Regions from separate parts of the Homo sapiens genome. Here region 2 is linked to region 1. The links are contacts of gene promoters, found by promoter capture Hi-C in blood cells and fetal thymus (Javierre and others, 2016). All regions are on one chromosome and are shown on one strand. Each heading gives the region's core, a stretch centred on a gene start or on the middle of the fragment in contact. The rest is flanking DNA. Distances are from core to core; before and after follow the strand shown.

Region 1 (2,700 bases), core at 25-2,524:
AACCAAAAAACAAAAAACAAAACCCAGCATTAGCAATGTCTTCACAAAAAGGATATATGGAAAATTACACATCTGGGCTCTTGCCAACTGATTGGAATGGTGTGGGTGGGTGAGGAGACAGGGCAAAGCAGAGAGAGGAAATTGTTTAAAAAAAAAAGGATGATGAGAAGTCTGGTTTCAGAAATTTTGCATAATACCTAAATTCAACTAACCTGCAAAAGCTCTGTGGGTAGTGATTTCGTTCTGCATCTCTCACGGTGCCACAGCATTTAAAAGATGCTCAATACTTATTAGTGTGGCCCCAGTCTCACATAAAGCATTTTTGTAATTGACAACATGGTTTTTGGGCTAAGCAAATACCACTCTACTGAAATATTAAACAGGGCAGATTCCCAACTGCAGCTTTAGCGGCAATTTAATGGTTGGCAAATATATTAAGTGGATGTGGACCTCACTATTTGGTCCTCACCCAGAAATACTGTAGGCTGCACACAGAAATTAAGCTTAGTTTCAATGAATAGTGAGACAAATTAGAGATGAAAAAGTTACATCTAACAAATAAAAAAGAAACCAACTTTAATATTCCCTTACCTAGACACCAGTATTCCACATTAGCTTTCCCTTATTGTCCTCTGACAGCATGCTTTAGTTCATCTTTTCAATATGTCTTGATTAACACTACTCCTTAACTTTAGGCTCCCTACCCATTCAAGCCACCCATATAAACTGCGTACACGTCCTTTGACAGCCATAATAAGTATAGTGTATGTTTCTCTCCAGCTCCTTTCCCTGTGATCCTCAACAAACTGCAAACTGTTCAAAGTCTACACATAGTTAATTTTGGTCGGTCCTCAGTTTCTAACGCATCCCGTAGGCGCTCAAAGAATGCGTCTTGTTGTTTTACACGCTTTCAAGTAACCATCGAGAAATCCTAGCAAGACGCGGGTCGGACCGGGTCCCTAGGGATAAAGAGAGCAGCGCCGGGCCAGGCTGGGGCCACTCTGGACCCAGCTTCTTCACAACTCCGCGCCTCTTCCCACAACCCAGCACCCCGCGCCGTCCACACCACGTTTACTTTGACTCGTCTTTGCATGTTACTCTGCCATTCCCGCTGCGCCAGGAGCGACTCGTCTGCTTCTTCGTCAAACACGTCCCCTTTGTCTCCAGGGCCCTGGATCAAGGAGGCTGCTTGAACCCACGACATCACCGAGGCAATTACGGGGTCGCAGGCCACCGGAAGCGCCAACAACTCCTTCCGGTCCGAAGGCGGGGCGAAGACGGCGAGTGGAGGCTCGGGAGGGGCTGCGTGTGCGCGGAGGCGGGCTGTGGCCCGTGGCCGCCGCCGGAGCCTTTCGCTTGCGGTGATTTTGGGCTCCCTCGGTTGGCAGTGTTGATGTGTGCCTGTGAGTTGTGAGCGAGGCAGATTTCCTCGCGTGGCCGGCACGACCTTCACCTTTGCAGAAGGCAACCGGGACCCTCAGTGAGACACCTTCCATTTCCACCGTAGTCTTACCATGGTCTGGGTTTTACATTCGCGCGCTTTGGTAAACTATTAAAGGTAGTAAAGTCGATGGGCGATTACCACCCAAATACTTTGTCTCTTTTGGAATCTCCTCTGCATTTAAAGGATTTGACAAGCCGACATTTTAAACTGTTAGGATTGTGGAGTAAAGGAAAATAGGATCGAAAAGCGAGGTACTGTAGCCAATTTGAGATTAGTAAGAAATATAGAGTACATTTGTAAAGCCAATATATTTTTTCATTGATTCACGATATCCTTCTGCCTCCCATTCCTGTTCATATGCCCTAAAGTAAACAGTTGGTTTGGTAAGGGTGGGGACTTGTGTCAACACCAGGACAGTTCTGACACATAGTAAATGCTGAACTCTATTTTGGTGAATGAATGAATACCTGTAGTATTCCTGTTTTGCCCTTTGCCTGGGTAAAATGAGTCATGTGATTATGATTTATTTATCTAACAATTTATTGAACACCTACCTTGTGTCAGGTACCATTCCAGGCTTTGGGATACATCAATGAACAGACGGAAGTTCCCAACCCTTGTCGACTTTATAGTCATGTAAAATTGACAGGATAAACAATAAGCAATATATAAGTAGCATAAGGTTTGTTAGAAGATCATAAATAAATGCTATGAAAAAAATTTTTAAATAAGCACAGTAAGAACCATAAGTGTGTGGGAGTGGGTGGTTGGTTCATGTTACAATTTTAAATCTCCAGAGAGAATTTGGCATCCCACAAATAAAAAATATATAAACTACAAATATGTATATTTTATTAATGTAAATATATTAAGATATATGTATATATCTTTATTAGGAACAAAATGGTAGTAAGCAATAAAGATAACAATAAAATAGAAAACCTCAAAACTTGAATAAGTAAGTCCAATTCTTTTTTGTATTATTTGAAAACACCAATAAGATAGATAATCCTGTCATGACCCAGATTTTTAAAGAGAACAAAATTATACAAGAATGAGAAATGAGATAACCACTGATGCAGAAGGAGATTAAAATATTAATTACCAACTAAAACTCAAAAGCAACACATTCGAAAACCTGAGAGATATGAATGACTTTCTAAGAAAATTGACCCAAGAAGTAGGGTCATGAAGAGACTAATTACCATAGAAAAATTGGACATTAAATATCTACTATTAAAAATGTCATGGAGACT
Region 2 (2,700 bases), core at 201-2,700, 1.2 Mb after region 1:
ACAGCTGCCTTCTGGTTTTTACTTGGAACTCAACTAAAAACCTTACAAACGTGTCAGAACTTGGAGATGAGCAGATCGCACAGCTTTTCTACACAGTGCTGTAGCTACCGTCTTCCTGGTGTGAGACTTTCCTAGGACTTCAGTAAATGGAATCGGACATTTGGTAACAGCACAGAGAAGACAATGACCAATATTCTCTTGGAAGACTTAGAAAATGGAGATCCAGGTGGTTTTGTTCATCTTTGAGCCCTGCAGGTGCATCCCTGTTTGATGATGATCCTGTCCTGAATCACCAGGAGGAGACCGCCTGGATGTTCACGGGCAGCGTTCTTCAAGGCACACAGTAGGGGGTTGATAAGTTGTTCATAAAGCCAAATAAACCATGCGCGAATAAGCTTAATATTCCATCCAAATATTTTGTGACTCATTGGTAATACCTTTTAAGGATCACTTAACAAGCAGCAGCAAATAGTGACTTTTTCCACTTAAAAGATATTTGAGACATAACCCTTACATCTATGCAAATTGAGAGGAAGGCCAGGTAGGTACCCTGAAGCTCTTTCCAAAGAAATCTAAATTTTATCTTTGTTTCCTAAAATCCAGTTAATTCCCAGTCCCCCCGATCTCAGGTCAAACACTCAGGTTGTTTGATTCTTGAGGGTTGGGTCAGAATTGCATGCTTATTTCCCTCCCTGCTGCACTCTGATGCCCTGTAAAACCAGTCCAGCCCAGGAGTGCCTTGTCCATACGCACCTTGCCACATGGCTGATACCCTACACCCTCTCCCACCAGTAAATATTAAACTCTGTGTCATTATGCTCTGCTCTCCAAAACCCTACCAGTGATCACAAAGTGCTGTCTGTGGCATTTGGAGATGCCACCAAACTTCCAATTCTCCCCCAAGATTCCAAGATACGAACTTTCCTTGTTTTCTTACCTCTCTTGTTGTTCCTTCTCTGTTACTGTTCCTAATTTTTTTTCCTCCTTCCTGTGGTTGCTGGAAGTGGGGTGGGGCAATAGCGACCTGTCCTTCAATTTGTGTTCCAGTTGTCCAAGGAATGTTGCCTTTGGAGTGTCCAATTATTGCTTCCAAGTCCACATGTTCATTTGTTCATTAAAATATATCAAGCACCAGCTAAGTGTCAGTTACTGTACATGGGGACCGCATTCATAAGATTTAGACTTCACGCTTGAGGGACTTCCTTCCAAACCCCTCCATGGTGCGTCACTGAGGGGCTCCTCCATTCTTCAGAATCTTGGGCCTGAAGACTTGGGAGCTTCCTTTGTGCATCATTTTCCAGATTTGGGGCACCTGCTATGATTTCCCTGCAAAACATACAACCTTGCACTTTAATCTAGTCGGGGTTCTGTTCTTCACACTGACAGAGAAGACAAATTGGATCCTTGTTGTCTCCCTTGCCACCTGACTTCTTGTCTTCCTCGTACCCTACTGCCCACCCATTTTAAGTACCCAACAGGTCCCCACTCCCTCCTCGCCTCTCCCTCTCAGAAACACATACACAAATGATGAATATCTGCTGCATGTCATACCAGATCCAGGAGCCTCTGCTTGGTCTTCAGAGCTGAACTTCACCTCTTCCCCAGTATTCATCCACTGCCTGCTTCAGAGGCGTCTCCTCAGCACCCCACCCGCCTTCTCCCCCTCAGCTATACACCTTTCTTGCCGTTTTGCAAAACCCCTCTCCTGGGATGCCTTCCCCTCTCCTGTTGGCCTCTAATCCCATCCCCCAGGCGTAGTCCAAGCCCTGTATCCTCAAAATCCCCCGTCCTCTCATCCTTCTACATTCTTTCCACATTTAGAGTAAATATGATACTCCCTAGCCCTTCATTTCCCCTACCAAGAGGCACACTGTCTCCAACCTTCTCTGCATGCTGTATTCACTTCTGGATCTTGTATACTTGTGTGCTGAGTGAACGAACAAGAGGCTGATTGAACGATTAGTTCAGGGAAGTCCAGAAACCCTAATCCCAGGATCAACATGGAATAAAATTTGAAACTGAGTGTGAGAAGAAAATGCAAAATACTTCTGTGATATTGGAGAGGGGAAAGTTTTCTTAAATGAGACTCGGAAACACCCAAAGTATATGGGCAAAAAAAAAAAAAAAAAAAGAGTTTGACTCCAAAATTAAGAATTTATATTTAATGAAAAGATATTTGAGATAGTTAGTTGGTAGACAGATGATAGACTTGCCTAAGATATTTGTACCATCCCAAATTCACAAAGGATAAATGTCTAAAGTACACAAGGATCTCATTCAAGTCAAGAATAAATGAATAATTACTATTATTAGTTTGTTTATATCATTTATATTTATTTATATTTATAATATGGCAATAGTTAATATAATAATAACATTCGTTGACTGTCGTTTGCCATGCATTGCATGTATTATTTTATGTAATCTTTACAAATCTATGAGGTAGTTGCTGTTTTTACTTATTACAGGCAGGGAAGCTAAGATAGAGTTACATGAGGAAGCTTTCTCAAAGTCACACAGTCAATAAATGGCAGGGCCAGGCTGTGCCCCAGGCAGGCTGGCTCTAACATAAGTCCTAACTCCAGCCTCCTTGTTGGTATGTTTAGAGGACATGAAAGGTAATTCACACTTCAGTGAATACTAAGTATAAAAAAGAACCTCAGCTTCCTAATAATCAGACCTGTGCCATTTTTTTTGTTT

What was found. The method cuts DNA at HindIII sites, captures the fragments that hold promoters and counts their contacts. A CHiCAGO score of 5 or more calls a contact.
Region 2: a contact is called between a fragment that was not itself captured here and the fragment with the promoter of YAE1-DT in region 1, in 1 of 17 cell types (naive CD8 T cells). The highest score is 5.2, in naive CD8 T cells.

The regions. Positions count from the first base shown.
Region 1 is chr7:39,564,923-39,567,622 of GRCh38, reverse strand. YAE1-DT (YAE1 divergent transcript) reads left to right here and starts at 1,274. Exons shown (of 3, transcript NR_187579.1): 1 at 1,274-1,480. YAE1 (YAE1 maturation factor of ABCE1) reads right to left here and starts at 1,219. Exons shown (of 3, transcript NM_020192.5): 1 at 1,076-1,219. The coding sequence starts at 1,204. It also overlaps the pseudogene TMX1P1. RefSeq lists an enhancer at 933-1,382. The HindIII fragment of the contact is 5,827 bases long and covers 506-2,700 here.
Region 2 is chr7:38,378,254-38,380,953 of GRCh38, reverse strand. It overlaps TRG-AS1 (T cell receptor gamma locus antisense RNA 1), which reads right to left. Exons shown (of 4, transcript NR_040085.2): 4 at 2,314-2,700. Among named protein-coding and RNA genes, the nearest start is that of TRG-AS1, 38 kb to the right of the region's middle. The HindIII fragment of the contact is 2,106 bases long and covers 398-2,503 here.